3 separate regions of the Homo sapiens genome follow, and regions 2 and 3 are each linked to region 1. The links are contacts of gene promoters, found by promoter capture Hi-C in blood cells and fetal thymus (Javierre and others, 2016). All regions are on one chromosome and are shown on one strand. Each heading gives the region's core, a stretch centred on a gene start or on the middle of the fragment in contact. The rest is flanking DNA. Distances are from core to core; before and after follow the strand shown.

Evidence for each region. Contacts are between HindIII fragments. The CHiCAGO score rates a contact against its expected background, and 5 or more counts as called.
Region 2: a fragment that was not itself captured here is called in contact with the fragment with the promoter of BACE2 in region 1 in 1 of 17 cell types (total B cells); the score reaches 5.7 in total B cells.
Region 3: a contact is called between a fragment that was not itself captured here and the fragment with the promoter of BACE2 in region 1, in 2 of 17 cell types (naive B cells and total B cells). The highest score is 5.4, in naive B cells.

Annotation. Positions count from the first base shown.
Region 1 is chr21:41,166,456-41,169,909 of GRCh38, forward strand. BACE2 (beta-secretase 2) reads left to right here and starts at 1,705. Exons shown (of 9, transcript NM_012105.5): 1 at 1,705-2,120. The coding sequence starts at 1,809. MIR3197 (microRNA 3197) reads left to right here and starts at 1,102; the gene lies at 1,102-1,174. RefSeq lists a silencer at 1,264-1,713. The HindIII fragment of the contact is 3,467 bases long and covers 304-3,454 here.
Region 2 is chr21:41,274,220-41,277,673 of GRCh38, forward strand. It overlaps BACE2 (beta-secretase 2), which reads left to right. Exons shown (of 9, transcript NM_012105.5): 9 at 1,152-3,454. The coding sequence ends at 1,405. Among named protein-coding and RNA genes, the nearest start is that of FAM3B, 41 kb to the right of the region's middle. RefSeq lists an enhancer at 354-1,553. The HindIII fragment of the contact is 225 bases long and covers 1,577-1,801 here.
Region 3 is chr21:41,231,477-41,234,930 of GRCh38, forward strand. All of the region lies in intron 2 of BACE2 (beta-secretase 2), which reads left to right. Among named protein-coding and RNA genes, the nearest start is that of PLAC4, 48 kb to the left of the region's middle. The HindIII fragment of the contact is 529 bases long and covers 1,239-1,767 here.

The DNA of each region.
Region 1 (3,454 bases), core at 455-2,954:
TGAAACGTGAATATATGAATAGAAGGGCTCTGGAATAACTATGCAGATTTATGGAGAATATCAACTTAAGTTATATCACGGGATCCAGCTATGCCTTTCTTCATGGAGTTGGGGATTTGTTAAAGTTGAGATATAGTTTGGGGGAAGTGTGATTTATGGTTAAAGTCATCTGAAAATCAATACATTTGAAGATCTCTGACATAAAGGTCCCTTGCAGAGCTAGACGTGATTCTAAAATTGGGAACACAGGAATAAAAATCAAATCTTGAGTAGAAGTAGCTGAAAATTGCAGTGATTCGGGGAAGCTTGGCTTCTAACTCCCCACTGTTTGAAGATGGGCTTGTTTGTTTTTTAAAACAGCCAACATAATTCAGCTGGAGGAGGTACAAAGAATTTTCTATTCCTTGTTTCTGTAGAAATCGATGGACTTTAGCTTGTCTAATTGTCCCCCCTGCCTTTAGTATCTAAAATAAAATAACCCTCGTTGCTTGCATTACTCAACGCATTTCTGCGTCTTGGCGTCTATGGCTAAACGAGTATTAATTAGACAGTCCGCAGAGAGCTGGCTGGGGATAGAAGGGGAGGTGGGGGAGAAGGGCAGGGATCACAGCAGGGTGGACTCGTGGCCCTGATTTGGGATCCTGACAGCAACTTACTAGGTGGCCTGAGGGCTGGGTGCCAGGGGAGGCAGCGGGTTCCAGTAGCATCTGACCTGCATTAGGGACAGGGGCGCGGCGGAGGGGGCGAAGGGGGCGGGGGTGGGGGGAAGGTGGCTGGGGTGAAGCCCAGCTTCGCAGCTAGCTGTGGGCAACAGAGGGAGTAAGGGGGGGCAATGAGGCTGGGGCCAGGCGCCAGCAGCAGCCACGCCCCCCACCTCCCCCGATTTTTAGGGAAAATTCTCCAAAGCTCTCGCATCCTCCTCTGCCTCCTTCCACCCTCCACCCTCCCAGCCTCCACTGAGACCTCTTTAAAACCACCCAGGGGCCGCCGGGGGATGAGGCCGGGGAACGGGCTGGACTGAGGGCGGGGGCTCGGGGGCAGCGGACGGGAAACGCCTCGAAAGCAGCCAGACCCGGCGACTGAAATGAGGCGGAGGAGCTTGGCGAGGGGAGGCGCAGGCTCGGAAAGGCGCGCGAGGCTCCAGGCTCCTTCCCGATCCACCGCTCTCCTCGCTGACCTCCGAGTCACCCCCGGAAGCTCCCGCCACTGCCGGGCGAATAGACCCCCGCGGACCCCCAAGCGCGCGGGGCCGGGGCCCTAGTTCAGGCCCTCGCTGCCCCTTTAAGGGTTCTCGAAACTTTCCCCCCGGTATCAGATGAGCCTCGTCACATCCGTTGGCCGTGGCCGCTGGGGCGCTTTCCGAGGAAATTCGGGACTCGAGTTTCCCGGGGAAGAGGCGCGGCCTGAGCCCGGCGAGGGTGGGGAGGGCAGGCGCAGGTGGACCCCGGCGCCCCCCGAGCCCCGCTGTGACCTTGGCCGCGGGGGAGGGGCTGGGCCGCTGCGGGGCAGTCGCGGCCGCCAGAGGGGGCAGCGGAGAAGAACTTGCCCAACTTGGCGGCGCGGGCTGGGGCGGCTCTGCGCCTCCGCGCCCGCCTCCCCGGCCTCCGCCTTCTCCCCTCCCGCGAGCCTCCTCCCCTCCCGCGAGCCTCCTCCCCTGGGCCCTCCTCCCGTCCTCCCCGCCGCCGCCGGTCCCGGTGCGCGCCCATCCCTGCCCGCAGCCCCGCGCGCCGGCCGAGTCGCTGAGCCGCGGCTGCCGGACGGGACGGGACCGGCTAGGCTGGGCGCGCCCCCCGGGCCCCGCCGTGGGCATGGGCGCACTGGCCCGGGCGCTGCTGCTGCCTCTGCTGGCCCAGTGGCTCCTGCGCGCCGCCCCGGAGCTGGCCCCCGCGCCCTTCACGCTGCCCCTCCGGGTGGCCGCGGCCACGAACCGCGTAGTTGCGCCCACCCCGGGACCCGGGACCCCTGCCGAGCGCCACGCCGACGGCTTGGCGCTCGCCCTGGAGCCTGCCCTGGCGTCCCCCGCGGGCGCCGCCAACTTCTTGGCCATGGTAGACAACCTGCAGGGGGACTCTGGCCGCGGCTACTACCTGGAGATGCTGATCGGGACCCCCCCGCAGAAGGTAGGGACCCCCGGCTGCTGCCGCGGGCTTTTCGGGCTCGTTGGAGGGAGGGGGCTGTCCAGAGACGCCTCCACGCGGCTTAGCGTCGCCCCCAAAGCAGCAGCTGTCCCCGCACAGAAGAGCGGGGAACGCAGAGGGGCTCGGGTGGGCCGGGGAGCGGGGGCGCTCGCTCTTGAGTCGCGGAGGACGGCAGCCCCCGCCCGGGGCGCACTGAGGGGTGTGCGCGAGTGTTTCAGAACTTGTGAGCTCCCCCTCCGCGGGGCTGGGCGGGAGAGGAGACCTGGAACTTGCCGCCTCCAATAACGTGATTTCCTTCTTGCGGGCGACACCTACTTCCAGCGGGAGACGGAGCGGTGGGCCTTGGGCGACGGGCTATTATGGGGAAAATCACCTCGTGTTCATACCCTCCCTCCCCCCCGCCCCCCCCCCACCCCACCACCATGCTGTCTCATTGCTAAAGAGGCTCGTGGCCGGCTTCCAAAGGCGCAGTACCCTTTAAAAAGGATTTATGCATGAGCTCAGCTAAAAGCAACCCGGTTAAGAAGTGGCTCGCTTGCTGCTCTGAGGAAGGAGCAGCGTCTCCCCTGCGCCCGCTTTCCTTTCTCGGAGTTGGTTTGTCAGCTGTGTCCTCGCTCATCCGGCGGCCCTGCCCCTCTGCACGGAGCGATGCATCTACACGCGGGTGTGCAGAGTGTGAAAAGCATTCCAGCTACCGGGAAAAAAACAGGGGCTGAGTGAGGTGTCCGGGGACCAAGTGGTATCCCGATTACAACACAAAAATAAAATCAAACAGCTTTCCTTTTCTCTTACTCTGATGTTCATTTACTAACACTTTTTGTAGCAAGAAACAAATGTTCCCAAGCACAGTGATCTGAAAAAAAAAAAAAAAAAATCCCAATTGATCTGCCCCCTCCTACTTTCAAACTGTCTAATCCAAGTGGGATTTGAAGTCCTTTGCTCAATTGAATGCACTATTTGAAGATAGTTTATTTTTATTTTTAACATTGTCATTTGGGTTTTGATTCAGCTATGATTCCCCCATAAATAGAACATACTCATGACTTTTGTATAATTCTCATTAAATTATTCAAGACTTTAAGAGGAAAGACATGCCATGCTAATTCTTTTAAAAAAGGAAACTGCCGAATAACTTCTGTAGTTGTTTAATTAGTTTAGGGGGAAAAAAAAACCTTCAAAAGCGTATATTCAAACTTTGATTCTAGTTGCCTTTCGTCTAAGTCATGGGAAGCCACGTGAGTGATCTTTGCCATCTCCAGGAGTGGATGGTTAGAGGGAGGGAATAGGAATCCCCATCAGCTGAGGGAGCTTAACTT
Region 2 (3,454 bases), core at 439-2,938, 110 kb after region 1:
CTTAGGAAAGCCATATTATGACAGAATCCACATTAGCAAGAAAATGCAGTCACTTTGCAAAGTAATCAAGCCTGTTTTCCTCTGATTTTAAAACCATTCTTTTCAGGTCATTATCGCATTGTTATTTTGACTTTTTCTTTCCTCAGTCAAAAAGGGTATTATTTGGCAGCTCTGAAGATCTTGAGGCTTTAGTTACAGAAAAATCAAATTCTTAGCAGTGTTATTTTCTGGTGCCAAAATATTCATTTCTGTGATTAAATATAGGAAAAATGGGTAATGAGGCCTATTTCTTTTCCGTATTGCAAGTAAAGCTTAAGATCCCATATTCCTGAAAGGGGCAGAGAAGCCTAGTGTAGGCAAAGGAAGTCTACAGATAATCCACAAACCGGCTTTAAGAAATCATCTCAACTTCCTTCTTGGTTTGAAGTTATTCAAGAGTCTCTAGCAGAAGTCACCGGGTGAATTTTAACTGTTTCTCTTTGTCACCAGTGATGTCATGAATTAGGTGTTGCATTCACTTACTGCTCCTGGCTGTTGATGAGACCTAGGATAAGAGTGGGGCAGGGAGGGTCTCTCAAGCCAGCCTGACCCCCGGAGGTCTCACAACCCACTAAGACTATGAGTCAGGTTGATATGAGGTCCCTATCTGTTGTAGAATCCATGGTAGGGAGTGAACTCAGGTTGACTCCACTGGGGAAAATTCCCCATGACGTAGGCAGGTCCAGCTGAGCTTTCTGCGGTAAATTCTCCTTCTCTTTCTCCTCTTTTTTCATCTCCACTGAGGAAGCACAACCCACACAGCTGTCATGACCAGGTGCTGACCTGCACTCTCACCTGTGTAGTACCGCAGTGTCGCTGGCATTCCATGAAGCACAGGGTGCTTCCATATGTGCCCTGCTGCAGTTCCCCTCCACACCTAGGCTCGGTACCCACACACCTTAAAACATGCCGTCGTTCCAGTTTGCAGGGACTGGACCCCCAAAGGCACGCTGAGCCGTGACCCCACTCAGTGCTTCCTGAGCTGTCTAAGCCACTGGGACCTCAGTGGACTTTAACTGTGGTTTAATAAACCAAGGGGTTCTGTCTGTGTCCAATGTGAGAGGTGGACCGCTCATTTCACAGCTGTGGATTTTCCCTTTCTGTCTCCCCAGAAATTGCAGGTGCTGCAGTGTCTGAAATTTCCGGGCCTTTCTCAACAGAGGATGTAGCCAGCAACTGTGTCCCCGCTCAGTCTTTGAGCGAGCCCATTTTGTGGATTGTGTCCTATGCGCTCATGAGCGTCTGTGGAGCCATCCTCCTTGTCTTAATCGTCCTGCTGCTGCTGCCGTTCCGGTGTCAGCGTCGCCCCCGTGACCCTGAGGTCGTCAATGATGAGTCCTCTCTGGTCAGACATCGCTGGAAATGAATAGCCAGGCCTGACCTCAAGCAACCATGAACTCAGCTATTAAGAAAATCACATTTCCAGGGCAGCAGCCGGGATCGATGGTGGCGCTTTCTCCTGTGCCCACCCGTCTTCAATCTCTGTTCTGCTCCCAGATGCCTTCTAGATTCACTGTCTTTTGATTCTTGATTTTCAAGCTTTCAAATCCTCCCTACTTCCAAGAAAAATAATTAAAAAAAAAACTTCATTCTAAACCAAAACAGAGTGGATTGGGCTGCAGGCTCTATGGGGTTCGTTATGCCAAAGTGTCTACATGTGCCACCAACATAAAACAAAACCAAGCCTTGGCTCGTTCTCTTCTCTCTTCAATCTCTGGAAAAATAAGTACATATAGTTGATAACCCCTCTTAGCTTACAGGAAGCTTTTTGTATTAATTGCCTTTGAGGTTATTTTCCGCCAGACCTCAACCTGGGTCAAAGTGGTACAGGAAGGCTTGCAGTATGATGGCAGGAGAATCAGCCTGGGGCCTGGGGATGTAACCAAGCTGTACCCTTGAGACCTGGAACCAGAGCCACAGGCCCCTTTTGTGGGTTTCTCTGTGCTCTGAATGGGAGCCAGAATTCACTAGGAGGTCATCAACCGATGGTCCTCACAAGCCTCTTCTGAAGATGGAAGGCCTTTTGCCCGTTGAGGTAGAGGGGAAGGAAATCTCCTCTTTTGTACCCAATACTTATGTTGTATTGTTGGTGCGAAAGTAAAAACACTACCTCTTTTGAGACTTTGCCCAGGGTCCTGTGCCTGGATGGGGGTGCAGGCAGCCTTGACCACGGCTGTTCCCCTCACCCAAAAGAATTATCATCCCAACAGCCAAGACCCAACAGGTGCTGAACTGTGCATCAACCAGGAAGAGTTCTATCCCCAAGCTGGCCACTATCACATATGCTTACTCTTGCTTAAAATTAATAAATCATGTTTTGATGAGAAAAAACTATTCTATTTCACTAGCTTAGTTGTCTCTTTTTCCAAATCTTCTCTGGAAGTAGGTTGGCTATTACCCTGTTGGGAAACAGGGAAATGGCCTGATGCCCCTATTTCTGACCAGCTGTCAGGGAAGGAAGATGCAAGATGTGCAGAAGACACAAGGTAACGTCTACTTATCCCCGTGCTTCGAAACCGTGTGTTTCCCTTTGCAGAACTGGTTAGCCTCAAGCATACCCATCCAATCAGCTTAAATTGTTCAGCAGTTGACCTCTGTGCTTCTTCCTTTGGGGGTGTTTAATCTTTGGTAACAGTTGTGCAGTGGTAGCCTTATTTCGGGGGGCAGTCCCTACTTTCTGTCACTTATCGAGGCCTTTGCCAAAGAAAAGTGGAAGCCGTTTCCTTGACATAGCCTTATATGACCTGATGTCATTAGGAGAAGAGTTAAAAGACAGTATCCCCTCTCTCCTGCTTGTGTGCCAAGTTCAGTGTTCCCTTTGCATTTTTTTGGGGTGGGTTGGCTATATTACAGAATTCCACCAAAAGTGCTAAGTGTCCCCTCCTGCAGAAGTATCGTTTGTATTCACAGTAGGCTACGTGTGGATGTTTCAGCCATCTGCTCTGCTCCCTGGGTCCCCGGGTCACCACCATACTGAGAAATATAGGACTCTGCCAAAGAGACGTGGAGGCCACGTCGGCTTGTCATGGTGTCCTGGAAGACTCTCCAGCAGCCAGAAGAACCTTCTGTGCTGTTTTCACTAGAGAAGATTTGAGTTGCAGCCTCTTGGAAAGAACATGACGGCACGGAACGGGAGGAGGGGGCTCTTGTATCAGGGCCCGTTGTCACATCCGCTCTCAGCTTGTTGAAAACTCATAATCTCAGAATGCATTTCACACGGAGAGATGTCTGGAAGTCCAATTCTCATCCCATTGGCTTTTTCCGTGGTTGCTGTTTTGTGGGCCGCTTTGCACAGGAGTGAAGCCAACACCCCTAGATTGTGCCTTCACCCTTGCTGTGAAAAATTCAAAGCCCTGAAATAAGAGGAGGGAATCGCAGACATGCCCTGATTAGTTTTCCTGCTTATTTCTTCATA
Region 3 (3,454 bases), core at 253-2,752, 65 kb after region 1:
GAGCTGACCCAAGGATTGAACTCTAGAATTCTGCACATCCACCTTCTCTTTTCGTGTTCTCTGCAACCAACAGCAGGTTTCTTTTGAAATAATAAAACGTTCTGTAGCTCTTTTCCCCTCAGTTCAATTGATTTCACTTTTTAATCCTGCATTCCCTGAGCACTCTTATCAGAGGCAGAACATCTTCTGAATTTGGTTCAAAGTGTTTTTATTACTGTGAGCAGGCTTTTTCCTGGCCACCCACATCCCTGATTGATTGCTGTTTCTGAGCACCCAGAATGGACATTGCCAAGGAGAAGCCCATCCAGGTTTCTTGCTCCATGTATTTAATTATTGTGCAGAGCAATTGAGAGCCAAAGCATTTTAGTCGCAAGAGGTGGGACGTTAGAAAATGAAGATGAAGGCATGTTTTTCATTTAAAGTGCTGGAAACTCTACGCTAATAATAACCCCTAGAGTCACTTATGAATGATTCTTCTCTGGGGTTTTACTCAGAGGTTTAGTTCAAGGAACCCAGAGAATATGAATATGAACTGAGAATTACCTTTTTTTTTTTTTTTTTAACATTATCTAGGACTGTGCTTTCTACAAGGCTAGCCACAAGTCACATGTGGCTATTTAAATTTAAATGAATGTTAAATAGAAGTTCGGTCTTTCAGTTGCACTATAATCGCATTTCAAGTGTTCATTAGTCACAAGCGGCCAGCGTATTGGGCAGGATATTTCTGTCGTCACAGGAGGTTCTGTTGGACAGCGCTGGTGCAGGGCAGAGAGGAACTCTGCCGTTTAGACACCGGTTGCACAAGAGCTTGAAGCGTCACCACCTCGCCTTGACCTCCTTAGCTGAGACACCCCACACACACTTGCTCCTTTCATGGGGTGGTTGGACTTTAGAATGAGACAGCTTTAGATTCAGTAAGAGTAGCTCTATAGGAGCATTTTCCAGAAAACAAACAAACAAACAAAAACATCCTGATGATATGCTTTGGGTGCAAATCTCATGTTGAAATGTGATTCCCAGTGTTGGACCTGGGGCCTCAGTGGAGGCATTTGGGTCATGGGGACAGATCCCTCATGAATGGCTTGTTGCTCTCATCAAGGTGATGAGTGAGTTCTTGCTCCGTTAGTTCACATGAGAGCTGGTTGTTTAAAGGAGCCAGGCACCTCCTCCTCTCTCTCTTGCCCCAGCTCTCACCATGTAATGTACTGTGTCCCCCTTCGCCCTCCACCTTGAGTGGAAGCTTCCTGAGGCCTCACCAGAAGCAGATGCCAGCAACATGCTTCATGCACAGCCTACAGAACCATGAGCCAAAATCATACCTCTTTTCCTTATGAATTATTCACCCTTGGGTATTCCTTTATAGCAATGCAAACATGGCCTAACAGACTTGAATTTTTTTTTTTTTTTTTTGAGACAGAGTCTCGCTCTGTTGCCCAGGCTGGAGTGCAGTGGCACGATATCGGCTCACTGCAAGCTCCACCTCCCGGGTTCATGCCATTCTCCTGCCTCAGCCTCCCGAGTAGCTGGGACTACAGGCGCCCGCCACCACACTTGGCTAATTTTTTGTATTTTCAGTAGAGACGGGGTTTCACCGTGTTAGCCAGGATAGTCTCGATCTCCTGACCTCATGATCCACCTGCCTCGCCTCCCAAAGTGCTGGGATTACCAGACTTGAATTTTCTAATAATAACTCATAGCCTGAAAAAAGGCAGCAAATGATTAATTATAATAATAGCAGCTATTTTGTGGCATATCTCCTGTGTTCCAAGCTTTTGTTCTACATGCTTTACAATATTAACTCTTTTAATCTGCATAATTAACTTCACGAGGGATGGTATTATATTATCACCATTTTTTAGTTGAGGAAACCGAGGCATAGAGAAATAAATAACTTGGCCCTGGGTCACACAGCTAATAAGGGATTGAACTCATATTTGAACCCAGGCAGTATAACTCCAGCTGCCTCTGCTGTCTCTGGAAATGACACCAAAATATCCAGAGTGCTCCCTCTGTAAGGAGACCAGCAACCTGAGCAGGAAACTAGAGAAGACATGCTAAATAGATATGCAGGCTGGTTCAGGTTCTTACTAACACTACAAATTCTACAGAGTTTTCTATAGCCTGGACAGAGTGAAACTAAACTTTTCAAAAGGAAGTCATAGCATTTTAGACTGTTTAGGAAAGATACAATTACTCTACCAGGGCTGGGCAAGGTGGCTCACGCCTGTAATCCCAGCACTTTGGGAGGCTGAAGCAGGTGGATCACCTGAGTTCAGGAGTTTGAGACCAGCCTGACCAACATAGTGAAACCCCATCTCTACTAAAAATACAAAAATTAGCTGGGCATGGTGGCATGCGCCTGTAATCCCAGCTATTAGGGAGGCTGAGGCAGCAGAATCGCTTGAACCCAGGAGGCGGAGGTTGCAGTGAGCTGAGATGGCAGCATTGCACTCCAGCCTTGGTGACATAGCGAGACTCCATCTCAGCAACAACAAACGATTACTCTACCAGACCAGGTAGTATGGTTTGGCTGTGACCCCACTCAAATCTCATCTTGAATTGTAGCTCCCATAATTACCATGTATTGTGGGAGGGACCCAGTGGGAGATAATTGAATCAAGGGGGCGGTTTTTCCCCATACACTGTCTTCGTGGCAGTGAATAAGTTTTACGAGATCTGATGGTTTTATAAGGGGAAATCCCTTTCACTGGCTTTCATTTCTCTCTTCCCTTCCCCATGTAAGACATGCCTTTCACCTTCCACCATGATTGTGAGGCCTCCCCAGCCACGTAGAATTGTGAGCCCATTAAACTTCTTTCTCTTTATAAATTACCCAGTCTTAGGTATGCCTTTATCACAGTGTAAAAACAGACTAATACACCAGGAGTTGGCAAACTCTAGCCCATGAGCCAAATCTGACCTGCTGCCTGTTTTAGTAAATAAAGTTCTATCAGAACACAGCCATGCAGCTATGCAAGTTTACTTACACATTGTCTGTGGCTGCTTCCACATTACGTTTGAGAGCTGAGTAGTTATCACAGAGATCCCATGGCCTACAAACCTAAAACGTCTATTATTTGTTTCTTTATGGAAAGAAATTGCCAACCTCTGTTCTAGATCCTATTCTCCAAGCATTTCAAGATAATTAGTCTTTGTATATTTCTGAACTTGAGGAATGAACCCAAATTGTCAAAATGGACTGAATAATTCAGTATTTTTATTGCTATTCAACATAAGCGTGTTCATCTCCTCCCATGTGGCAGGCACATCTGAATTTATATTGGCACTAACACTTGGCATTCCGCCAATCTTCAAATACCCCATTTCAAAGACCTGACTGCATGTTACCTGGGTAATTTCTGGTGGATCCCTTAGTGCTCTAAGGACCCTCTGTGGTCACTTTTCTGTTTTTGTACCTGCCCATTGTCGGGAGATCTGCGCACAGAAAACATTC